Regions from separate parts of the Homo sapiens genome. Here regions 1, 3, 4, 5 and 6 are each linked to region 2. Evidence: promoter capture Hi-C in human tissues and cell types (Jung and others, 2019). All regions are on one chromosome and are shown on one strand. The core of a region is centred on a gene start or on the middle of the fragment in contact, and the rest is flanking DNA. Distances in the headings are between cores, read along the strand shown. Region 1 overlaps GTF2IRD1 (GTF2I repeat domain containing 1). Region 2 holds the start of RFC2 (replication factor C subunit 2). Region 3 overlaps GTF2I (general transcription factor IIi). Region 4 has its middle 29 kb from the start of MIR10525. Region 5 overlaps GTF2IRD1 (GTF2I repeat domain containing 1). Region 6 holds the start of GTF2I (general transcription factor IIi).

Region 1 (4,424 bases), core at 658-3,157, 310 kb before region 2:
GTTTGAGAAAAGCCCATTCTGGTGCAGAAGTAGCACTCAGTGACCTCTGGTGAACCCTCAGAGACTCCCAGGAGCCTGGACGTGTTCCCAGCCCAGCATGACTAGTGGCATGAGTAAGTGTGGATACCTGGTGGATACCTGGCTTGGGTGCCAACGCCTGGAAAGGGGCTGGCAGGTCCATCCCTGAGGGCTGAGGCCACGACCACCTGCTAGCCCTGGGACACAGAGTATTAACACATCACTCACACCGAGCCTCAGTCTCCCCCTCTGTAAGGTGGGCTCTAGCGTCAACCTCCTAGCTATGAAGACTAAATGAGATGCCTCCTCTGTCTGCACTCTGCTGTAACCCTAGTTCCTCTAGAATACCACCTTGTCCCAGCAGGACCTCCCAAAATATGTGTGAAAGGCACCCGCATAAAGCACCAGTGCAGGGCCAGAAACCCAGTGACCTCTCAGCCGGGTGTCCACTGGAGCCACACTCACTGCACTGTGCTGCTGCAGCTTCCACTCTCTCCACCTTTCCAACATCATCTGACCACTCTGCCCCTCCGAGAGCTCCGGAAACACACTTCTGGCATCCAGTGACCCCCCAACCCCTGCCGTTCACCCCGCCAAACCCACCCTCCTCTCTGCCTCTCAAAGTCCCATCTTCCCCTGAGGCCCAAGCAGGGCCATCCTTACTCCAGGAAACCCTCTCCAACTACCCCTCACCCTCCTGATCCCCCTTCTGGGGGTTCCCGTGGCCTGTCAGCAGCCGCCACATCACTGTACCCTAAGTTCTTTTTTTTTTTTTTTTTTTGAGACAATCTAGTCCCGTCGCCCAAGGTGGAGTGCAGTCGCGCGATCTCGGCTCACTGCAACCTCTGCCTCCCGGGTTCAAGTGATTCTCCTGCCTCAGCCTCCCAAGTAGCTGGGATTACAGGTGTGCGCCACCACACCTGGCTAATTTTGGGATTTTAAATAGACATGGGGTTTCACCATGTTGGTCAGGCTGATCTCGAACTCCTGACCTCAAGTGATCCTCCTGCCTTGGCTTCCCAAAGTGCTGGGATTACAGGTGTGAGCCACCGTGCCTGGCCCGCCCTGGAGGCTCTGGCCAGCCCTTAGTGCTTGCCAAGTGGCATGTCGCCCCGCAGGGACAGCCCCTGCAAATCTGGGTTTGGGATCACCCTGCAGGGACAGCCCCTGCAAATCTGGGTTTGGGAGGCCAGGACACAGTCCATGGTGGAGACAGAAGTGGATGGGTGCCTTAAAAAGGGTCAGGAGGTCGGGTGTGGTGGCTCATGCCTGTAATCCCAGCACTTTGGGAGGCTGAGGCAGGAGGATCACTTGAGGCCAGGAGTTTGAGACCAGCCTAGCCAATATGGTGAAACCCAGCTCTACTAAAAACACAAAAATTAGCCGGGCATGGTGGTGCCCACCTATAATCCCAGCTACTTGGTAGGCTGAGGCAGAATAGCTTGAACCTGGGAGGTGGAGTTTGCAGTGAGCAGAGATAGTGCCATTGCATTCCAGCCTGGGCAACAAAGTGAGACTTGGTCTGTCTCTGTCTCTCTCTCTCTCTATATAATATTTTTTATTATATATATAATATTTTTAATTATATATAATATTTTAATTATATAAATATTTTTAATTATATATAATATTTTTATTATATATATTTTTTATTATGTATATATTTTATTATATATATAAAATATTTTTTTAAAAAGGGTCAGGAGAGGCACTGCACTGTTTAAGGCAGGGTAGGCGCCACCCACATCTTACCAACATGCTTGTGGTCCCCATGCAGACACCCCTCCTTCTGCGGTTAGGAACCCACTCACCTCCAACCTCGCCTATTCACTGAGGTCAACCAGAGCCCCTTTATCAGGAGGAGCAGGTGCACTGACTCGGCCTGGCCCCTCCCTCCTGAACCCAGACTGGGTAAAACTTAGAAGTCACTGACGCCACCACCCCTTTCTCTGTCCCAGGATCTGGGGCCACATTCAAGCTTAGTCTTCCTCCATCTACCTGGGGCAGGAGCCCAGGTAAGGTGGCTAAACAGAAGGGCAGAGGCCTAGGCCGGGCGCAGTGGCTCACGCCTGTAATCCCAACGCTTTGGGAGGCCGAGGTGGGTGGATCACTTGAGGTCAGGAGTTTGAGACCAGCCCTGGCCAACATGGTGAAACCCCGTCTCTACCAAAAATACAAAAAATAGCCAGGTATGGTGACAATTGCCTGTAATCCCAGCTACTCAGGAGTCTGAGGCAGGAGAATTGCTTGAATCCAGGAGGTGGAGGTTGCAGTGAACCGAGATGAAGCCACTGCACTCCAGCCTGGGTGACAGAGAAGGACTCTGCCTCAGAAAAAAAAAAAAGAAAGGCAGGGGCCTGGCTTCTGTTCCCAGACCCCAGAACCTGTGCCCCACAGCAGGCTTAGCTCCAGTCCCCAGCACCACGATCGGGCCCTATTCCCAGTGCCCCCTCCACAGCCAGTGCCTCTTACCAGGCTTTGGGATGAGTCCTTGGAAAGGCCTAGAAGAGAAACAGAGGCAGGGGTGTCATGGGGAGGGCCTGGGGGATGAGGAAGACACCCCTGGGATTCAGTGGCCTCGGTCTCCCCTGGGAGCACCCCAGACCTACAGCAGCAGAATCTGCATTTTAACAAGCTGCCCTGGGGCTCTGTGTGTGCGGGACACTGAGACAATGTGGCAGGGTGCTGGCATTGGCAGTGTCACTCTGCAGGACGCAGACCTGGGCCTTGTGCAGGCTTTGCCCTGGCTGGCCCCGGGACCTTGGGCAAATCCCTCTGATGGGGGCTGAATACCTTTCCCGGGGGCTGGGGGTGCAGTGAGCGGGTGTTGCTGAACAGGTTGAAGATGCCCTCAAAGGCTGCCCTTGCCATGGGGGGGTGACCAGTCCCACTTCTGAAGGGCTCCCTTCACTTGGGCTGGCCTGCAGTCCCTCTCCAACCACCCCCAGGACCCAGGATGGTGCCAGGAGAGCCACCTTGTCCAGGGGGGAGGGCAGGACCTAGGGAAAGGCTAAGGATTCGCAGGTGCAAGCTCCCATCTGAGCTAGTCCTGCCTCTTCACCCTCACCCTTCCCACTGAGTACCTGGTGACTGTGAACTTGATCTTGTCAGCCACAGCAAGAATCCTCTCCAGGTTCTGGGAGCCGAAGGTACAGGGCTTTCGGAACGGGATTCCTGGGGGCAGCCCCTCGATGATCACGGAGCCGGGGTTACTCTTGATCCGCTTGTAGGGGACCTGGACCGGGTACTTGATGCCCAAGGCTTCCCCTGTGGGCGAGAGGCAGGGTCCTGCCCGTCAGGAGTGAGAGGCAGCGTGGGGTGTGTGTACATGGGATTGCGGGGATGTGATGGAAAGACATGCGTGCAGGAGAGTGAATGGTACGAGAAAGCTCTTATGTAGTGTAGCACTGTGGAAAGGTATAGGCATTACAATCTGAGCTGTTTGATCAGAACATAAAAAAAAGGCCAGCATGGTGGCTTATGCCCGTAATCCCAGCATTTTGGGGAACCAAGGCAGGAGGATCTCTTAAGTCTAAGAGTTCGAGATCAGCCTGGGCAACACAGCAAGACCCTGTCTTTACTAAAAATTTCTAAAAACTAGTTGGGCATGGTAGTGCCCAGTGGGGTGTAGTTCCAGCCACTTGGGAGGCTGAGGCAGGAGGATTGCTTGAGCCCAGGAGTTTGAGGCTGTAGTGAACCATGATCACGCCACTGTACTCCAGCATGGGTGACAGAGTGAGACCCTGTCTCAAAAAAAAAAAAAAAAAAAAAAAAAAAAAAGAAACGAAAGAAAAAGCCACACCAATATGCTCCCATGTCATATGCTCCATTTTTTTTTTTTTTTTTTTGAGACGGAGTTTCGCTTTTGTTGCCTAGGCTGGAATGCAATGGCGCGATCTCAGCTCACTGCAACCTCCCCCTCGCAGGCTCAAGCGATTCTCCTGCTTCAGCTTCCTGAGTAGCTGGGACCACAGGTGTGCACCACTGCACCTGGCTAATTTCTTTTTTGTGTTTTTGGTAGAGATGGGGTTTTGCCATGTTGCCCAGGCTGGCCTCGAACTCCTGAGCTCAAGTGATCCACCTGCCTCAGCCTCCAAAAGTGCTGGGATTACAGGCAGGAGCCACTGTGCCGGGCCCTTGTCTATTAAATTCTGTGTGTAGTTCTTGAAAGTGTATCTCACCTCATTGGTCTGCAAGGCTCATGAGTACAGGGACTGTGTCTGTTTTATTCACAGCAATATCCCCAGTGCCTGAGACAGTGCCTGGCACGTAGTATATGCTCAAGAAATACATGTAAAGGGGTGAATTGTTTCCCCAGAAATGCCCTCGGCTGGAACTGGGAAGCCTCCCACTTCTCTGTGCACAGCAGCTGCGTGTCCCTCCCCGGGGGTTCTGCACTGCTTACC
Region 2 (3,987 bases), core at 1,289-3,788:
CAAACTAAGATGTGTTGCCTGACTTCTCTGACAATTTGATTGGAAGCCTCTGGATTTGGGGAAAGAGGATTTTGGTTTCAATTTTATTTCCTTTCTACATGCTTCCTCTTGGTGTATAACTGCCTTGCCCTCTTGTGATGACAGTCTGGGAGCTTAGCCTCAGTGTGTATTTAATTTCCTGAGATTTGAAGGATTTGCTGGGAGGAATTCTCCGTGGCTACTCTATGCCCTTTCACAAGAGCCTGTGGTTTCCCCAGCACTCCCTGGTTCCCCAACATTGCTGTTTTTCAGTCCCAGGGGAGCGGCTGGAGTTTTTAAGTTCTGAGCTCTGTTTGGGCCCAAGTCCAATAGGTCACAAAAGGCTCAGTCTAAAAAAAAGAAATGTCCTGACAGTGCAGCTTTGCCCTAAGAGTCACCTCCATCTCTGGTTCTCCTGGCATTCCATCAGTTAGAGGAGAGCCCTAGCAGCGCCAAAAGGCCTCCTGTAGAGTGGGGGTTTTTGGAGAATTATGAAAGGAACCGTGTTCTGTACTTATTAAAAATTAGTTTCTAAACTGTGTTATGTGATGGGAGGGATGTGTGTCATAGTGATTACAAGGAAAACATGAAGATTACAAAGGAACAATCCTATGGAAAAACCGCGGAGACATTTCAAGAAAAGTGTATATTTCAAGAGGAGTGTGTATTTTCTCCTCCGGAAAAATAAAAGACCTGTGAATAATGATTGAAAAAACAGACAAGACCGCTCCATCAGTTTAAAGGGGGAATAGGGGAGAGATGGCCAATTCAAACATTTTTTCCAAATTACATGGAAAGAAAAACACTGTGTTAAGTTGTGAATCTGTATACGTTAATACTATCGTTAAAACCAACTGCTTGGCCAGACGCGGTGGCTCACACCTGTAATCCCAGCACTTTGGGAGGCTGAGGCAAGCGGATCACTTGAAGTCAGGAGTTTGAGACCAGCCTGGTCAACGTGGCGAAACCCCATCTCTACTGAAAATACAAGTATTAGCCAGGTGTGGTGGCACACGCTTGTAGTCCCAGCTACTCGGGAGGTTGAGGCAGGAGAATCACTTGAACCTGGGAGCCTGACATTGCAGTGAGCTGAGATCACACCACTGTACTCCAGTCTGGGTGACAGAGTGAGACTCCATCTCAAAAACAAAAAACAAGAAACAAAACAAAGAATGGTCAAAGCACTTGTGAATCTGAAGTACCTACTTTCTTTTCTTCTTATTTTTTTAGAAACAGGATTTCACTCTGTCCCCCGGGGCTGGAGTACATTGACTTGATCATGGTTCACTGTGGCTTCAACCTCATGGGCTCAACCGATTCTCCTGCCTCAGCCTCCCGAGTAACTGGGACTACTGTCGCGTACCACCACAACTGGATAATTTAAAAAATTTTTTTTGTAGAGATGGGGTCTCACCATGTTGCCCAGGCTGGTCTCAAACTCCTCGGCTTGAGGGATCCTCCCACCTTAGCCTCCCAAAGTTCTGGGATCATCATTATTGAATATTATGACAATTTGGGCTATGGGAGGAAAGATTGGGTAGAAAAACAGCCCATAAGAATGCTCAAAACCCTTGCAAGGTTGAAGTATTTACTTTTTCTTTTTTGAGACAGGGTCTTGCTGCAGACCAGGTTGGAGTGCAGTGGTGTGATCAGAGATCACTGCAGCCTGCACCTCCTGGGCTCAAGCACTCCTCCGCCTCAGCTTCCTGAGTAGCTGGAACTGCAGGTGCGCGCCACCACGCCCGGCTACTTTTTTAATTTTTATTTTTGTAGAGACGGGGATCTCACTTTGTTGCCCAGGCTGGTCTCGAACTCCTGGGCTTAATCGCTCTTCCGGTCTCTGTCCCCCAAAGTGCTGGGATTAGAGGGGTGAGCCACCGCACCGGCCTTGAGTCCCTATTTTCCTGGAATGAACATTGCATTTCATCTGACAAAAGGACGGTTTCAGTTTCCTCCTCTGCAAAATGGGGTGGGGGTGGAATTCCCATCTTGCAGCCGAGAATTCCCTGATAATAAACGTCGAGTACCGAGCGCGGTTGAGGCGCAGGAGCCTACCCAACGGGAGCAGCTCACTAGGACATTCAGAGCAATCTGGAAAAGTGGGCACGGGCAGCCCCAGACGTCATCCCCGGACCCCGCTGCCCAGCAGCGCCCGGACGCCAGCGTTGTCCGTGTCCCAACACCGAAGCCCGCGTTTGGCCGCAACCCCTCCAGGCCCTGCTCCTCCCACGCCGCCGCGGAGCGGATCTTCCACAGAAACCACACACAAACGTCCGTTCCGAGAGCGACCTGCTTTCTCGGAAGGCGTCGCGGCCACAGCTCGCCTTCCTGTCGCTCCCAGGCCGGGCGCCAGGTCTCCCATAGCAACCGCGGCCTCCAGCGATGGCCGCCAGGGCACCACCGGAACCCTCTTCGCAGGCACAGAGAGGCGCGGGTACGTAACTTCCGCTCGCGCCCGGCGGAAGCCAGGGGGCGGGGCTTGCGTGGCGGCGTCAAGGGGCGGTGCCTCGGGTGGCGGGAAGAGGAGGCGCGAGAATGGAGGTGGAGGCCGTCTGTGGTGGCGCGGGCGAGGTGGAGGCCCAGGACTCTGACCCTGCCCCTGCCTTCAGCAAGGCCCCCGGCAGCGCCGGCCACTACGAACTGCCGTGGTGAGGTCCCAGGCCGTAAAGAATGGGCGCGTTTGGACGTGAGGGTGGGCGAGTGGCGGGCCGTGCTCCGGAGAAACTCGGGGGTCAGGGGCTCGTTTTGGGGAATCCCGAGGGAGGAGGAGGCCCCGGGTGGCATCGAGATGATTTCAAGAAGGCGACGGACATGGATCGAGAGTGGCCGGTCTAAACTCTGCGAGCGGAGTCTCGCTCACTACAATGCTTATGACAATTAGGGCTACCCCGGGTGGCCACCTACTCTGACCTAGTTGGTTTTTTCAAAAGTTTTTGTGTATAGTAGTGTATGACCTAGTGTTTTCAAAAACTTCAATCTTTTAAAAAAAATATCGATTACATGTTGAAAATAATATTTTGACTGTTAGGTTCAATAACATTTACATTTGAAATTTTTTTAAAAAAATCAAGACGGGGGTTTTGCTGTGTTGCCCAGGCTGATGTCCAGCTCCTTGGCTCAAGTGATCCCCCTGCCTCAGCCTCCTAAGTAGATGGGACTACAGGCACGCACCACCATGCCCAGTTAATTTTTTTTTTTTAGATGGAGTCACACTTTGTCACACAGGCTGGAGTGCAGTGGTGTGATTTCTGCTCACTACAACCTGCATCTCCCTGGTTCAATCAATTCTGCCTCAGCCTTCCTAGTAGCTGGGATTACAGGCATGTACCATCACACCCTGCTAATTTTGTGTTTTTAGTAGAGGCTGGGTTTCACCATGTTGGCCAGGCTGGTCTCGAAGTCCTGATCTCAAGTGATCCGTCCGCCTCGCCTTCCCAAAGTGCTGGGATTACAGGCATGAGCCACTGTACCCAGCCTAGGCCTACGGTGTCTAGCCAGCTATGCTGTGTATTTGGCACACGTCTGCAGAAACTGGCAGGTAATCCTTGCCTGGCATGGTGGCTCACGCCAGTAATCCCAGCACTTTGGGAGGCTGAGGTGGGCAGATCACCTGAGGTTGGTAGTGACCCAAGATCGCACCATTGCACTCCAGCCTGGGCAACAAGAGCAAAACTCTGTCTCCAAAAAAAAAAAAAAGAAAAGAAACTGGCAGGTAAGGGATGAGAAAGGAGCTTGGTTGCACCCATGTTGTCACACCAAATGATGTCAGTGCTGTATGTGCTGGGCCTCTTGTGACGGGCGGACAGGGTTGCAGCACAGTGTCACATTGCTCCAGATGACCTGTGCTGGCCGTGCTCCAGCAGCAACAGGTGTTTCTCTGCTGTGGCAGGTTTGAAGCCTATGCTGTACAATTCTCATGCCTTTAACTTTTCAAATGGCACTTGGGCATCTTATTACATTTTATTTATT
Region 3 (4,129 bases), core at 1,087-3,586, 470 kb before region 2:
GGCGCCTATAATCCCAGCTACTCGGAGGAAGGCTGAGGCAGAGAACTGCTTAAACCTGGGAGGCAGGGGATGCAGTGAGCCGAGATTGCGCCACTGCACTCCAGCCTGGGCGACAGAGCGAAACTCCGTCTCAAAAAAAAAAAAAAAAAACTCTTAGCACCTGGTACATACAATGTGCTCAGTATTTGTGGAGGGATTAAATGAACATATGAATAGTTTAGTCCCTAATTATATGCTGCAGTCAAGTATCTGGCACTATCTTAAACATAAATTCCACAAGAAAGGGATGGTAGGTAGTCCAACTGCCCATCATAAACCCTACTAAAATACTGAAACTCTAAAAACGTATTATTCAAATCTTAGTACATAATTCCTCTGAGACTCCTTTTTTTACATATATAATTGTGTATTCATTAAGTGTCTGATTGGCAGCTATAAAAATAAAAAACACAGAAGTTTTCCAACGCTAACCTCCTCAATTACAGAGATCCTAAAAAACCTACAGTACCAGCTGCAGTAAGTGTGCCACGTGTGGTCATGTGAGTCAATTATATTTGAAATTATTTACATATACCTTTCAAAATATGAGAAATAAAAAAGCCAGAGTTTGACTTAGGAAGACGTAAAATTCATCACAAAATGAATTTACTTAAAATCAATTTAAGGGAAAAAAATCAGGTTAAGTAATGAACAGAGAGTTAGGCCACAGCAGAAGGAACACAGGTAACAGGTAAGTGACTCAGGTTTGGGAAGCTAGGCCCTAAGAGAGAACTGCGCAAGAAAGAAACCTCCTTTACACGGTTCTTAGCACTCCCATGACAGCTAGACCTGAAACAAGTCTGATAAGGTTTTCTCTGCACACATTAGAGATAACATACCTGACGGCAATTCACCTTAACCCAGAAATGTAGTCACGGTGTTTACGAAAACTGAGGCATGCGGTCCTATTAGTCCAAGGCCGATTTCCCAAACCTAAGTCACGTATGTTTTAAATGTTTACCACCGACTCCAAGTACAAATAAAACGCCACAAATGGAAGTGCACAGCTCAGAGCGCACCGGCAGTGGGTAAGTAATGACCCTGTATCCACAAACACGTCCGCGTCGGTGTCAAATTAGCCACTTCAGAACTCCACATAATTGCAAATGAAGATATCGAGGTGAAAACACTGTGAAAAATCGGACAGACTTATTTGATAACAAAGTTCTGTTTTTTTTTCTACCAATGATTTGGGAAATGTGAAAAGATATAAAAGGAGAAAATTAAGTCGTCTCCAAGCAAGCAGGAATATCTCAGTTTATTTTTGTCCGTCTTCCTACCAAGCATGAGTATTTTCCAAAACAAAACTAAGATTATCCTCTAGATGCACTTTTGCTTTTCAAGTTGCCTTGTTCTCAAGGCAGGATTTTTTTTTTTTCCACTGAACATTTTATATTAGAGATCTTTTTTCAGATTATTGGAAAACATTATCAGGATTTCAATGGCTATATATTTTTCTGTTATGAAGATATACCAAAATTTTATTTCCTAACTACGGGTATCTAAATAGCTCCTACCATTTGGAAGTAATCTTTCCAGAAAGAATATATGATACACATTATTAACCAGAGGTGTGCATGTAAGTTCTCACTTGACCTTCCTTGTTAATATTGAGACAGTTTTTTATCTTCTTAAAAAAATGAGGAATTTAATTGTTGATGTAATTTCTATATAATATACATATTTTTTATATATAATACATAAAATGTGTGTGTGTATATGCACATATGACATGGAAAATGCTACCTTTTAAAAGGATTACTTTACTCAGACCTGGTATTTCACTGGTCTTCTGAAAAGAAAGAGGTCTACTAGCAAAATTCTACTACTTAATCACAAATGTGAACATTAAATCAGGCTTATGGCACAATGTCTTAGTTTAAAAGAAATGAATGGCCAGGTGCGGTGGCTCATGCCTGTAATCCCAGCACTTTGGGAAGCCGAGGTGGGCAGATCACCTGAGGTCAGGAGTTCGAGACCAGCCTGACCAAGATGGAGAAACCCTGTCTCTATTAAAAATACAAAATTAGCCGAGCATGGCGGCGCATGCCTGTAATCCCAGCTACTCAGGAGGCTGAGGCAGGAGAATCGCTTGAACCTGCGAGGCGGAGGTTGCGGTGAGCCGAGATAGCGCCAATGCACTCCAGCCTAGGCAACAAGAGTGAAACTCCATCTCAAAAACAAATAAATAAATAAATAAACAAATAAATGAAAAGAAAAGAGATTTATTACTCCATCCAAAACAGTTAAAGTTCAAAAGGCTGACATAAGCTTCAGGTTCATGAGCCATTTATTTCTGGATTTTCGTAACCTTTCTTTAAAAGTCTTATACTATAAAAGCAAGTATTTACATTCTAAACCATTTTAATACAGCCTCTACAGGAGAATGGCGTGAACCAGGAAGGCAGAGCTTGCAGTGAGCCGAGATCGCACCACTGCACTCCAGCCTGGGCGACAGAGCCAGACTCTGTCTCAAAAAAAAAAAAAAAAAAATACAGCTTCTATCTGCTTTAAGATTTGACAAATCAAAATGGTTATTAGTCCTACCCTAAAAGCTTTATTTTTATAATTTTAATAACCTCCTATTAATATCTCCATAGAAAGGGCACAGCTGAGTAGTTGTAATATTTGTATGTTCTTAAGTTTTTTTCCTGTTAATGAGGTTTCTCACTAAAAACGAATTAAATTTCAACCATTTAATGCTGGACTGTAAACAATGCAAAATGTTTTAGATTAGAAAAATTATATTTATGAAAAAAGAAATCTGTATATTAAGTTAACACATGAAGTATGAAAAGATTTCTTGTATTAAGTGGAAGCTACTAATTGACTTATATTTTAGAAGCAATGAAGACAGACACGTTGAGTAGTTTGGAGTAGTCAAACACTAGAAATAACCAAGTGACATCAGTAGGTGACAGGTTATTAAGAGAGAAAGAGAGACAGACAGCAAACCAAGAAAGGTTACGCAGCAGCTAGAAAAAAAAACTAATAAAGTACCAAGATGTGCAGTTATGGGAGGGGGAGGCCTATGGAATATGTAATATTTTAAAATGTGCATTGTAATGTATGCTGAAAGCATCTGTGTATTTTCGCATCAAGATATGTACTGCAATTATTTCTCTAAGTAGACACAATAAGCTGGCATACATCCCTCAGTATTGGGACTTGGGAGCAGAGTGAGGGTGAAGAAAACTTTCCACTGTACAATTTACTGTACCATTTTCACATTTTACCACAAGAAAGAAGTACTTTCAGGGGAAGAAACTTACACAAGTATTGTGACACATTAATTTTAATTTTAATTTTTTTTTTGAGATGGAGTTTCACTCTGTCGCCCAGGCTGTAGTGCAATGGCGTGAACTCAGCACACTACAACCTCTGCCTCCAGGGTTCAAGCGATTCTCCTGCCTCAGCCTCCCAAGTGGCTGGGATTACAGGCATGCACCACCACACCCAGCTAGTTTTGTATTTTTAGTAGAGATGGGCGTTTCACCATGCTGGTCAGGCTGGTCTTGAGCTCCCGACCTCAGGTGATCTGCCTACCTTGGCCTCCCAAAGTGCTGGGATTACAGGTGTGAGCCACCGTGCCCAGCTGTGAGACATTAATTTAAAAGGAAAAACGCAATGCTCATTTAATAACTATTAATATGAAGTGATAGTTAATAATTCTATTAGCTGAATTTTCAAATAATTCAGGATAAACTGGCTCAGCTGAGTTCAAGCTTATCTTTGGAGAAAAAAACAGGTTTGAAGCAATCTTAGCTATAGAGAGTATTGTAGAATATATTTGTAGCTATTGCTTCAAAACAGTTTTGAAAGATAAATTGTATGTCAGCCTCTAAGTAGTATTTGCGGGTCGTTGAAGGGGGCAGGGACTTGCTTTAAAAATTACTCACTAAACTATCAACACTTTCTCCTCCACTTTACTTAATTAGAAATTAGGGATTCCAGCTCCAAATAAGTCTTCTTCTATCACAACCCAATAGATTATAGAATCTGTTTTTGTGTGTATCAAGTCTGGTCATAATTTTCTTTTTCTCTTTTCAACTCCCACTGATAGCAAGGATAGCTTGGGCCACCCGTGGGC
Region 4 (3,932 bases), core at 950-3,449, 370 kb before region 2:
CTACTTGGGAGGCTGAGTGGGGAGGATGGCGGAGCCCCAGAGGCGGAGGTTGCACTGAGTTGAGATTGACCCACTGCACTCCACCCTGGGTGACAGAGCAAGACTCTGTCTCAAAAACAAAAAAAAAAAAACAAAAAAAAAACAAAAAAAAAAACTGTCTAAAAAAACAAAATATATATATATGTATATATGTATTTTTGAGATGGAGTCTTGCTCTGTGGCCCAGGCTGGAGTGCAGTGGTGCAATCTCGGCCCACTGCAACTTCCTCCTCCCAGGTGCAGTGATTCTCCTGCCTCAGCCTCCTGAGTAGCTGGGATTACAGGAGTGTGCCACCACACCTGGCCAATTTTTGCATTTTTAGTAGAGACGGGGTTTCATCATGTTGGCCAGGCTGGTCTTGAACTCCTAACCTCAAGGGATTCACCCGCCTCGGCCTCCCAAAGTGCTGGGATTACAGGCATGAGCCATTATGCCTGGCCTTTATATATATATTTTAAATCATAGGTTTTATTTAAACAGACAAATCCAAGTGTATGAAAGAGACCTCTGTGGTGGAGAAAGAAAAAGAAAGCAAAGCAAAACAAAGCAAAGAAAAGAAAGAGAAAGAAAGAAGAAAGAAAAAGAAGGAAGGGAGGGAGGGAGGAAAGAAGAAAGGAAGGACGAAAGGAATGAAAGAAGGAAGGAAGGAAGAGAGGGAGGGAGAGAGGGAGTGGGTGGATCACCAGAGCTCAGGAGTTTGAGACCAATCCAGCCAACATAGTGAAACCCCGTCTCTACTAAAAATACAAAAAAAAATTAGCCGGGCGTAGTGGCACGCGCCTGTAGTCCCAGCTACTTGGGAGGCTGAGGCAGGAGAATGGTGTGAACCCGGGAGGCGGAGCTTGCAGTGAGCCGAGATCCCGCCACTGCACTCCAGCCTGGGCGACAGAGCGAGACTCCGTCTCAAAAAAAAAAAAAAAAAAAAAAAATACAAAAAGTAGCCGGTTGTGGTGGTGGGCACTTGTAATCCCAGCTACTTGGGAGGCTGAGGCAGGAGAATTGCTTGAACCCAGGAGGCAGAGGTTGCAGTGAGCTGAGATTGTGCTATTGCACTCCAGCCTGGGCAACAAGAGCGAGACTCTGTCTCAAAAAAAAAAAAGAAGAGAAAGGAGGAAGGAAGGAAGGAAGGAAAGGAGGGAGGGAGGGAGGGAAGGAGGGAAAAAAGAAAGGAAAGAAAGGAAATCTAATTGAGAGGCCAAACTGGGAGGATCTCTTGAGGCCAAGAGTTTGAGACCAGCCTGGGCAACAGAGCAAGACTCCATCTTTACAAAAAAATAAAAAGAAAATTAGCTGGACATGGTGGCTTGCATGTGTAATCCCAGCTACTTGGAGGACTGAGGCAGGAGGATTGCTGGAGCACAGGAGGTCAAGGTTGCAGTGAGCTATAATCACAGGACTGCACTCCAGCCTGGGTGACACAGCGAGACCTTGTCTCTAAAAAAAAAAAAAAAAAAAAAAAGAAAATATAAATTTCAAACAAGATCATTTTTCACAACTACTTGAAGAACTGCTGCCACCTCATGGAAAATTTTTATAAACTTCCAGTTTAGGCAAGAATCCACATTCGCTGTCTTCCAGAGTGTTCCTCTAGTCAACAACGTTGTGTAAAGTTCCCTTAGATCACCATTGTATAAAGTTCCCTTATTTCCCCTGGGAATCATTGGCCTGAAACTGCAGTTTTATCATCGTGGGTCAGTTTGAAAGTGGTTAGAATATTCTAACAATGTGCTTAGAAATAAAAAAAAAACTTTCTTTTTTTTTTTTTTAAATTGAGATGGAGTCTTGCTCTGTCACCCAGGCTGAAGTACCGTGGTGAGATCTCGGCTCATTGCAATCTCTGCCTCCTGGGTTCAACTGATTCTTGTGCCTCAGCCTCCCAAGTAGCTGGGATTACAGGTGTGCGCCACCATGCCCAGCTAATTTTTTTTTGGAGACAGAGTCTTGCTCTGTTGCCCAGTCTAGAGTGCAGTGGCATGATCTTGGCTCACTGCAAACCCTGTCTCCTGGGTTCAAGTGATTCTCTTGCCTCAGCTTCCTGAGTAGCTGGGATTACAGGCTCCTGCCACTGCGTGTGGCTAAGTTTTGTATTTTTAGTAAAGATGGAGTTTCACCATGTTGGCCAGGCTGGTCTTGAACTCCTGACCTCGTGATCCAGCCACCTCAGCCTCCCAAAGTGCTGGGATTACAGGCATGAGCCACTGCGCCTGGCATGCCTGGCTAATTTTTGTATTTTAAATAGAGACGGGGTTTCACCATGTTGGCCGGGCTGGTCTCGAACTCCTGACCTCAGATGATCCACCTGCCTCGGCTCCCAAAGTGCTGGGATTACAGGCATGAGCCACTGCACCCGGCCCAAGATTTCTTTTTATTTTATTTTTTAAGTATAGAGACCAGGGTCTCACTATGTTGCCTAGGCTGGTCTTGAACTCTTGGCCTCAAGTGATCTTCCCACTTGATTTTCCCACCACACTCAGCCTCTTTTTCTCTTTTTCTTTCAATTTAATTAATTTTTTTTTTGAGACAGGGTCTCACTCTGTTGCCCAGGCTGGAGTACAGTGGGGCCATCATAGTTTATTGCAGCCTCAATCTCCTGGGCTCAAGTGATCCTCCCACCTCAGCCTCCAGAGTAGCTGGGACTTCGGGCATGTGCCACTTCACCTGGATAATTTTTAAATTTTTTGTAGAGGCAAGGTCTCCCTATGTTGCCCAGGCTAATCTCGAATTCCTGGGCTCAAGCAATCCTCCTGCGTTGGTCGCCCAAAGTGCTGGGATTAATTAAAAAAAGAAATAGTATTTCTGTTGTAATTCAAATTAGCAAAGAGGAGCTAAGGATTATGAAAATTGTTCTTTACAGAACTTCATCTCTGTTATTTATTTTATTTTATTTTTTGAGACGGAGTCTCACTCTGTCTCCCAGGCTGGAGTGCGGTGGCGCGATTTCGGCTCACTGAAACCTCTGCCTCCTGGGTTCAAGCGATTCTCCTGCCTCAGCCTCCCGAGTAGCTGAGATTACAGGCACCCACCACCACACCCACCCAGCTAATTTTTTTTTTTTTTTTTTTTGGTATTTTTAGTAGAGATGGGGTTTCACCATGTTGGCCAGGCTGGTCTCAAACTCCTGACCTCTAGTGATCCGCCTGCCTCAGCCTCCCAAAGTGTTGGGATTACAGGCGTGAGCCACTACGCCTGGCTCATCTCTGTTATTTTAAGAACATTTCAGTAACAAACATACTGCCACATGCCAGACAGGATATTTCATGCCTGTGTTCTTTCACGCACACCTGAAAAAACCTTCCTACGGCTGAATTCCAGATAATTCTTGTTTCGTTTTTTTTATTTTTTTATTTTTTTGGAGACAGATAAAAATAGTCTCTCTGTCACCCAGGCTGGAGGACAGTGGCGCAATCTTGGCTTACTGCAACCTCCGCCTCCTGGGTTCAAGCAATTCTCCTGCCTCAGCCTCCCGAGTAGCTGGAACTACAGGCGCCCACCACCACGCCCAGCTCATTTTTGTGTTTTTAGTGGAGATGAGGTCTCGCCATATTGCGCGGGTTGGTTTCGAACTCCTGACCTCAGGTGATCCACCTGCCTTGGCCTCCCAAAGTACTGGGATTACAGGCGTGAACCACCGCGCCTGGTGGAGAATTCTTTTTCTCAAGGCTCAGCTAAGGATAGGCTCTTCCTTGAAAATGTCCTTCAACTCATCCTGGCAGGGTGGGCTGTGTTCTCCTCTTTGTTTCTGCAGGATTTAGTGCCTGCTGCTAGGGTCGTATTTATTATTACCGTATTTACTGATGTAGCACCGTATCAGTTTTTTGGTAATAATTGCGTGTGTGTGTTTTATTATTATTATTGTTATTTTGAGACAGAGTCTCACTCTGCCGCCCAGGCT
Region 5 (4,005 bases), core at 212-2,711, 330 kb before region 2:
ACAGGCGCCTGCCACAACGTCCGGTTAATTTTTGTATATTTAGTAGAGATGGGGTTTTGCCATATTGGCCAGGGTGGTCTCAAACTCCTGAGCTCAGGTGATCTGCCTGCCTCGGTCTCCCAAAGTGCTGGGATTACAGGCGTGAGCCACTGTGCCCAGCCTGACTCCTGTTTTTTGAGACAGGGTCTCACCCTGTTTCCCAGGTTGGAGTACAGTGGTGCCATCATAGCTCACTGCAGCCTTGAACTCTTTGGCTCAAGCAATCCTCCCCACTCAGCCTCTCAAGTAGCTGGGGCTCCAGGCATGAATCACCATGCCAGACTAAGTTTTTTTAAAATTTTTTGTAGAGAGAGTCTCTCTCTGTTGCACAGGCTGTTCTCGAACTCCTAAGCTCAAGCGATCCTCCTGTCCGCAGCCTCCGAAAGTGCTGGGATTACAGTTGTGAGCCACTGTGTCTGGCTCTTTTAATCTTGAAAACTCTGGGAAGAGCTCACTTCTGTTTAGGAGGCTGCCTTGGGAACTGCATCTCCTGGCGTGGTGCTCTGTGCTGCTTAGAGTCTGCTGACCCCGTCTGGGTGGCTTGGCCTCCCGTGCGCAAGCTGCCAGAATGGAGGCCCTGTTCCCCATGTGGGGGTTGCCCCAAAGAGCAGGGAGCTTCCCACAGGACAGAGGCTGGGCACCTGCTTGGCCTGGTTCCTCCTTTTCCCAGGGCTCCAACACCCACCACCTCAGGTCCTCCCAAACCCTGCAGGTCCCTGGCCTGGTCCGTCCACACCCACACTCAGCAATCTCTGCACATCTCTGAGTTGCTGATCTGTCTTCAGGCACGGCCCGCCAGCCCCCCTGCGTGCCCAGAGACACTGCAAACATCAGCCATTCCAGACAACGTCCTCCTCCCGTGTCCCTATCTCGTGGAGTAATGCCTCTAATTCAGCCACACAAAGACCCCACGCTCCACATCCCCTAGAACCCTCGTCTTCTCCTGTGACCCAACACGGGCCTTCCTTTCAGGACTAGGATGTGGGAAGAATCAAGGCCACCCTTGTCCAAATCCATGCAGACAACAGTGATGGAGTCCTGGGCCCAAGGACCAGCTCCTAGAGCCTGCAGGGAAGCAACAGCACATTCCATCTGTCCCCATGCCACTGAGGAATCTTTGGTGGCAGGATTCTCAGCAGGCATGGCCATGCATGCACAGAACAGAGAAAGGATGGCCTGGATCACACACATCACTGTGTGCAGATGCTTTCCTAGACACTGCAGCCAAAGACACAGAGGCTCAGAGAGGTAAAGAAACTTGCCCAAGGTCACACAGCCTCTAAGCACCAGGAGTACTCTGTGTCAACCCCAAAGCCCTGGTCTTTCCACTCTACCATGAGCCCTGGGTTTCCTGAGGTCTCAGATTCCTCTACAGTTTCTTTCTTTTTCTTTTTTTTTTTGGAAGAGTCTTGCTCTGTCACCCAGGCTGGACTGGAGTGCAGTGGTGCGATCTTGGCTCACTGCAACCTCTGCCTGCTGGGTTCAAGTGATTCTCCTGCCTCAGCCTCTCGAGTATCTGGGATTACAGGCACCCACCATCACACCTGGCTGATTTTTGTATTTTTAGTAGAGATGGGGTTTCACCATGTTACTCAGGCTGGTCTCCAACTCCTGGCCTCAGGTGATTCGCCCACCTCGGCCTCCCAAAGTGCTGGGATTACAGACGTGAACCACCATGCCCAGGCTCCCCTACAGTAGCTGTAGAAAGAAGGCTTAATCTTTAAGATAGTTTCCTCTAATCTGTTGCTCTCAGCCCACAATGCCACACCTCTGTCTTCTCCTGTGTCGGGACAGAGCGAGACTCAAAGTCAGAGCTCTACGAAACCTGCAGGACAGAAAGAAGCTTAGCAGGCCTCTCAAAGACGAGGCCCAGACCGGGCACGGTGACTCACGCCTATAATCCCAGCACTCTCAGAGGCCGAGGCAGGTGGATCACTTGAGGTCAGGAGTTCCAGACCAGCCTGGCCAACATGGTGAAACCCCGTCTCTACTAAAAATACAAAAAATTAGCTGGGCGTGGTGGTGCATGCCTGTAATCCCAGTTACTCAGGAGGCTGAAGCAGGAGAATCCCTTGAACTGGGAGGTGGAGGTTGCAGTGAGCTGAGATTGCGCCACTGCACTCCAGCCTAGGCGACAGAGCAAGACTCCGTCTCAAAAAAAAAAAAAAAAAAAACACCAAACAGGCTGGGCGCGGTGGCTCACATCTGTAATCCCAGCACTTTGGGAGGCCGAGGTGGGTGGATCACCTGAGCTCAGAAGTTCGAGACCAGCCTGTCCAACGTGGTGAAACCCCGTCTCAACTAAAAGTACAAAATTTAGCCAGGCGTGGTGGCAGGTGCCTGTAATCCCAGCTACTCCGGGGGCGGAGGCAGGAGAATCGCTTAAACCTGGGAGGCGGAGGTTACAGAGAGCCAAGATCGCGCCATCGTACTCCAGCCTGGGGGACAAGAGCGAGACTTCATCTCAAAACAACAACAACACACAAAAAACCCAAACAAACAAAAAACATGGGACCCCAAACTTACTATGCCAAAGGGAAATGTTAAGCTTGGGAACTGAGTCACGCAATAGCCTTTTGTTCCTAAACAGATGGCTGCAAGATAGAAGGCCACCTAGCTCCCCTGGTGGCCTCCCTCACCCTGGCCATGTAAATTCACAGCTTATCTTCACAGGCAGGGGACAAAGATAAGAATAGAAATCATTGCTCTGTCTACCCAAGACAAATGCCTATATGACTTCCTCTACTCTATTTACTTTATCTTATGTAAAAGGCAGATTTACTGAGCACAGGATAAATACATCATTAACTATTCCTCTTCCCCCTTTATTTTTTTATTTTTCGAGACAGAGTCTCCCTGTTTTCCAGGCTGGAGTGCAGTGGCATGATTTTGGCTCACTGCAACCTCCGCCTACCGGGTTCGAGTGATTCTCGTGCCTCAGCCTCCAGAGTAGCTGGGATTACAGGTACCCGCCACCACACCTGGCTAATTTTTTGTATTTTTAGTAGAGATGGGGTTTTGTTATGCTGCCCAGGCCAGTCTCGAACTCCTGACCTCAGGTGATCCACCTGGCTTGGCCTCCCAAAGTGCTGTGAGCCACCGTACCCAGGCCCTCTTTCCCCTTTAAATACCAAAGTCCTCAAAACTCTGGAAAAAAGCACAGGCCACAGACCCTATTGCAGCTTGAGTCTCTTTTTCCTGGCTGTGTCCTCCCCCATGGCAAAATAAATCTTTAAATTGATTGAGACCTGTTTCAGGCACTTTTGGTTTACATGGCCCACGGGGGTCTATAGCAGGGATCCTGACCCAGCTGGGAGTCAGGGAGGACTTCCCAGAGGAGGTGACCACCACACGGGGCCCAAAGCTCCAAGGATGTGGGCTCATCTGCACGCTGGGGCTCATCACACGGACCTCCAAGGCAGTTGTGAGCGGTGAGTAAGACACAAGGAAACTTGTAGTATCCTGTGATTTCAGGTGCTCAACATGCTTTAGCCAATCAGGAAACTTCCCCTCTTCCTTCCAAGTCTTGCCTGGTCTGGGAAGAAGTGCAACCCTAAACCAGGCTGCAGCTAACCAGGAGTGACACTACGGGGCAGTCGATAGGATACTATGGCAATTCTATATGGGGCACAGGTCCCAGGCGGTGGACCAGAAGTGGTGGGAGTGTGCATGTCAGGAAAGTGGGGCCGGGCTGGCTGAGGGGGCTGGCAGTTTGGGGAGGCGTCCTGACCACCTCTGGAGTGTGGGAGGGGTGGAGTGGGGCTAAATGCCTTTGTCAATAACACCAAGAACTGGCCGGATGTAGTGGCTCACGCCTGTAATCCCAGCAATTTGGGAGACTGAGGCCACGAGTTTGCAACCAGCCTGGGCAACATGGCAAGACCCTGTCTCCACAAAAAAAAAAAAAAAAAAAGAAAAAAAAAGAAAAATTAGCTGGGCATGGTGGTGTGTGCCTGTAATCCCAGA
Region 6 (3,939 bases), core at 1,160-3,659, 400 kb before region 2:
AAAAATGTCATTCCAGCCAAAAGACCAAGATCTCAAGGAGGAGGAGAAACGAAAGCCAAGGTAGCAGCCACAGAAAAATCCTGTAGCAGGAAATAAAATCGGTCATCCCACACCACAGGCCTCAGCCTGGGGAGAAGACCCCGCCTCCGCAGGGCACTCTACCTGCACGTTCTCATTTGCAAACTAACTTCCCCTTTTGTTCCCTGAAGGACTGGAGACTTCTCCTCTGCACTGTTGGCTGATCAAGCCATTGTCTGCGGCAAAGTTGAATTTAAAAGAGATGAGGCCCAGCGTGGTGGCTCAAGCCTGTACTCCCACCACTTTGGGAGGCCTAAACGGGAGGATCACCAGAGTCCAGGAGTTCCCGACCAGCCTAGGCAACACAAGAAGACCCCATCTCTAAAAAAAAATTTTAAATTAGCCAGGCGTGACCCAGGGCGGTGGCTCACGCCTGTAATCCCAGCACTTTGGTGGCAGGCCGAGGCGGGCCGATTGCTTTCAGCTTGATTCAAGAGTTGGAGACCAGCCTGGCCAACATGGTGAAACGCCATCTCTACTAAAAATACAAAAATTAGCCGGGCGTGGTGGGCACGCCTGTAATCCCAGCTACTCAGGAGGCTGAGGCAGGAGAACGGCTTGAACCCGGGAGGCAGAGGTTGCAGTGAGCCGAGATCACACCAGTGCACTTCAGCCTGGGCCACAGAGTGAGACTCCATCTCAAAAAAAAAAAAATTAGCAGGGCATGATGGCATGCGCCTGTAGTCCCAGCCACTGAGGAGGCTGAGGCAGGAGGATCGCTGGAGCCCAGGTGTTGGAGGCTGCAATGTGCTATGATTGTGCCACTCTGCGCTTCAGCCAGGGCAACACAGAGAGACCCTGTTTCTAAAAAAAAAAAAGAAAATTAAGCCGAAAGCGATGGCTCACACCTGTAATCCCAGCACTATGGGGGGCCAAGGTGGGAGGATCGCTTGAGCCTAGGAGTTCAAGACCAGCCTGGGCAACAAAGTGAGAACGCATCTCCACAAATAATTTTTTTTAAAAAAAGGAGGTCAGTAGTCAGCAAGAGCTGCGCATCGCCAAGAGTGGACACTACTCCAACAGCACCCCACCTGTGAACATCCCCAGCCGCAAATCAGCGCAAATCCATAACCTAGGGAGGACAAAATTCGCTACACGAAAAAGCAAAAGCTGGATTAAGAAAAAGTGGAGAAGTCGGGGAGCGGGAAGGAGACAGCTTTTTCCATTTCATTTTCCTTCTTCCTCTGCACTCCCGTCGTCTGGGTGCTGGCTGAACCCAGACGGCTTAATTTTCATGGCCTAAAGCTGAAGTTTTCCTTCCGGTCATTGTGTTTATTTCCCCCAAAGAACAGGCCCCGCGGGGCAGGCGCGCCGGGCCGGCCCGGGACAAAGCCCACTGCGGACTCCACCTGGGAGCGGGGCGGGGCGGGGGACAGCGCTCCCGCTCCCCCGCCCGCCGCAGTTACCAGGCAACGCGCGGCCCCGCCCCCGCGCCGGTTGGCCAATCCCGCGCGTCTGCTGCCCCGGCGCAGGAGCCCCAGATACACCAGGCGAGCGCGACCCCACGACGGCTCGGGCCTGGCACCGCGCGCGCCCCCGCACCGCCTAGCCGGCCAATCAGCGCGGCGGGGCATGCGCAGCCCGCAGGGCCGCTCGCTCGCTCGCGCGCGGGATCGCACGCGCGAGGCGCCCCCCCACCGCACGCCGGTCGGCGCGCGCGCCCCTCCCCCACGCGCACTGAGGCGCGCGCGTGCCACTGTCGTCCCCCGCGACCGCGTCCGTGCCGCCCCACCCCCATCGCCTCGTTTCGGCCACTGCCAAGGCCGGCGGGGCTCGAGACCCGGCGAGGCGGTGGGGGTGGGGGTAGGGGGAGGCGGCACGGGCGCCCCCCAAGGCCCCACACCGCGCGCGGCGGGCCGCGGCTCCCAGGCCCCTGTCCCTGCAGGCCCCGGCGGGGCAAAGTCTCTAATAAAGGCCCCCGCTCGCAATGGCCCCCGAGGCGGGGGCGGGGGGCGCGGGGATGAGGCGAGAGGGACTCACCCGAGTGCGGCCGCCTCCAGGCAGCTCCGGGGCCGGGGGTGCCGAGGGGAGGCGAGTGTGGGCCGCGCGCGGGCTGCGGCCGCCGCGGAGCAGCCTCGGCTGAGGGGAGCTGGCGAGCGGACGGGAGGCGAGAGGGGGCGAGGGGCCCGTGCGTGTCGGTCGCGCTCCTGTCACCGCCGCATGGCCGCCCCGCAGGCAGGGCCTCGCTCAGCGCCTTGATCCGATCACTGGGGGACAGAGGCAGAGGCCGGGGTGACCGCGGCAGGCGGGCGGCCGCGGCTGGAGAGCGCGTGCGGGGAAGCGGGGGGGCGACCGGTGGCCCCTTTTCTCTGCTCTCCCAGCTTCTCTCTCACCCTCCTCCTCCTCCTCCTTTTTTTTTTCTTTTTTTTCTTTTTTTTTTTTTTTTTTTTTTTTTTTGTTCCTCGAAGGCGCGTTGCGCCTGCGCATCCGCAGCGCCGCCCAGCGGGAGTTGTAGTTTCGGATGCGTTCCCCGTCAACGCGGCGGCGGCGGTCGTGGACTACAACTCCCAGGAAGCACCGCGCCGGCTAGCCCCGAACCCGAGGACGAGGCAAGCGCGGCGCCCGGCCCTCTCCAGCAAGGGCTGTCAATGGAGGCGAGGGTGGTGGGAGCGAGAACATGGCTGCACCTGGGGCCTGCGCGGCCGCCCGGGTGGGGGAGGGGAGCCGGGGTGCAGAAACGGAAATCTGGACGGGTGGTGGCTCCGGCGTCGTCCCCACCGAGCGCCAGCCGCCGTCCAAGTCCGCCACTTGCTCTTGCACCCCACATTCCTTGCAAATTGCGAGGCAGGGAAGCTGCAAAAGCCGGGGAGCCCCGGGCTGGGCCGTCGCCCTCCTTGCTCTGCAAAAGGGGAGTCCTTCCGCCTTGCACCACCCTCCAGGACACAAAGAACTCCTCTCTAGTGTTTTCCAAGCTGGCCTCCAAAGAGACCGTTGCCCCCAAGTTCGGACAGGCGAGAGGGGAGGAGACCTTGTGTTTTAATTCCTCCCCCAGACCCTCCGCCTCTATCTCTCCCTCAGGATTTGGAAGGAAACTTGCAAGGGAGTGGGAGCAGAAATCCTGACTCGTAGCTCCTGTTTTGTTCTGTCAACCGCGATGCGATTTAACTCAAACTCCTCCCCCTACCACTATTTTTTGCTTCTCAACTTGAATTAGCCGGTGGGTTTTGAAAATGGAGAGACATTACTGTTCACCTAAGTTAAACTCCAAAACTTTACAACCCCGAGGCCGACGATTTTTAGATGTTTATGTAAAGCACGAGATTGAGTGGTTTTTTGATTCCCGCCCGCCCCCCCACCCAGTACCACCCACTGGGGATTCGGGCCACGACGGCCATCCTCCCCCCACCCGCCGCTTCTCGGTAGGTGGCGACCACGACGCTTTTTCCAGCCTCCAAGCCTTTGTCGCTAGCGAGAAAACTTTCCGAGCAGCCAGTCTTTTGATGTGGGTTCCAAAAACCTTTCCTTTCAATCTGGGTTCTCCGATTGGCATTCCCCATCGTCTCTCTTGCACAGACCGCACCCAATAAAGCCTCCTCTAGAATTTTCATGTTGGATTTTTTTTGAAAAATACATGGAGAGCGTAAAGCTCACCGGAGAAGCAATCTGATTACAGAAGCCTGAATTTTTGCGATTTCCCGGACAATGTCTAGGATCCCTTCGGTCCTTGCCTAATAAGATTGTGACTCTCCTTTGTCGATTGTCTCGAAAGTCATTCATTAAGTTTGCACAAGAGCAACTTTCTTTTTGCACTTGTATTTCATTGACATTTAGTAATATTTAATTAAATTCTCTATTCCCAATACCACGTGCCACTGGCATATATTTAGGAACAAATTTAACTCTTGAGAAGCCTATAACTCA

What was found. The method cuts DNA at HindIII sites, captures the fragments that hold promoters and counts their contacts. A contact is called where the count stands out against the background at its distance.
Region 1: a fragment that was not itself captured here is called in contact with the fragment with the promoter of RFC2 in region 2 in 1 of the 25 tissues and cell types used here (lymphoblastoid cells).
Region 3: a fragment that was not itself captured here is called in contact with the fragment with the promoter of RFC2 in region 2 in 1 of the 25 tissues and cell types used here (dorsolateral prefrontal cortex).
Region 4: a fragment that was not itself captured here is called in contact with the fragment with the promoter of RFC2 in region 2 in 1 of the 25 tissues and cell types used here (dorsolateral prefrontal cortex).
Region 5: a contact is called between a fragment that was not itself captured here and the fragment with the promoter of RFC2 in region 2, in 6 of the 25 tissues and cell types used here (H1 embryonic stem cells, IMR-90 fibroblasts, dorsolateral prefrontal cortex and 3 more).
Region 6: a contact is called between the fragment with the promoter of GTF2I here and the fragment with the promoter of RFC2 in region 2, in 1 of the 25 tissues and cell types used here (dorsolateral prefrontal cortex).

Annotation. Positions count from the first base shown.
Region 1 is chr7:74,557,722-74,562,145 of GRCh38, reverse strand. GTF2IRD1 (GTF2I repeat domain containing 1) reads right to left here. Exons shown (of 27, transcript NM_005685.4): 20 at 4,424; 21 at 3,102-3,285; 22 at 2,491-2,519. Among named protein-coding and RNA genes, the nearest start is that of WBSCR23, 27 kb to the right of the region's middle. The HindIII fragment of the contact is 5,828 bases long and covers 1-4,424 here.
Region 2 is chr7:74,252,950-74,256,936 of GRCh38, reverse strand. RFC2 (replication factor C subunit 2) reads left to right here and starts at 2,538. Exons shown (of 11, transcript NM_181471.3): 1 at 2,538-2,666. The coding sequence starts at 2,554. RefSeq lists enhancers at 2,145-2,224, 1,698-2,300, 2,635-2,864, 2,301-2,903, 2,904-3,506 and 2 more and a silencer at 2,465-2,584. The HindIII fragment of the contact is 19,783 bases long and covers 1-3,987 here.
Region 3 is chr7:74,719,145-74,723,273 of GRCh38, reverse strand. All of the region lies in intron 12 of GTF2I (general transcription factor IIi), which reads right to left. All of the region lies in intron 2 of GTF2I-AS1 (GTF2I antisense RNA 1), which reads left to right. Among named protein-coding and RNA genes, the nearest start is that of GTF2I-AS1, 7.7 kb to the left of the region's middle. The HindIII fragment of the contact is 4,068 bases long and covers 303-4,129 here.
Region 4 is chr7:74,623,228-74,627,159 of GRCh38, reverse strand. No RefSeq gene overlaps it. Among named protein-coding and RNA genes, the nearest start is that of MIR10525, 29 kb to the right of the region's middle. The HindIII fragment of the contact is 7,153 bases long and covers 1-3,932 here.
Region 5 is chr7:74,583,319-74,587,323 of GRCh38, reverse strand. All of the region lies in intron 22 of GTF2IRD1 (GTF2I repeat domain containing 1), which reads right to left. Among named protein-coding and RNA genes, the nearest start is that of MIR10525, 11 kb to the left of the region's middle. RefSeq lists an enhancer at 1-124. The HindIII fragment of the contact is 6,527 bases long and covers 1-4,005 here.
Region 6 is chr7:74,656,188-74,660,126 of GRCh38, reverse strand. It overlaps GTF2I (general transcription factor IIi), which reads right to left and starts at 2,409. Exons shown (of 35, transcript NM_032999.4): 1 at 2,059-2,409. RefSeq lists enhancers at 250-479, 2,430-2,479, 2,500-2,619 and silencers at 1,250-1,769, 1,840-2,129, 2,150-2,329, 2,700-2,859. The HindIII fragment of the contact is 40,491 bases long and covers 1-3,939 here.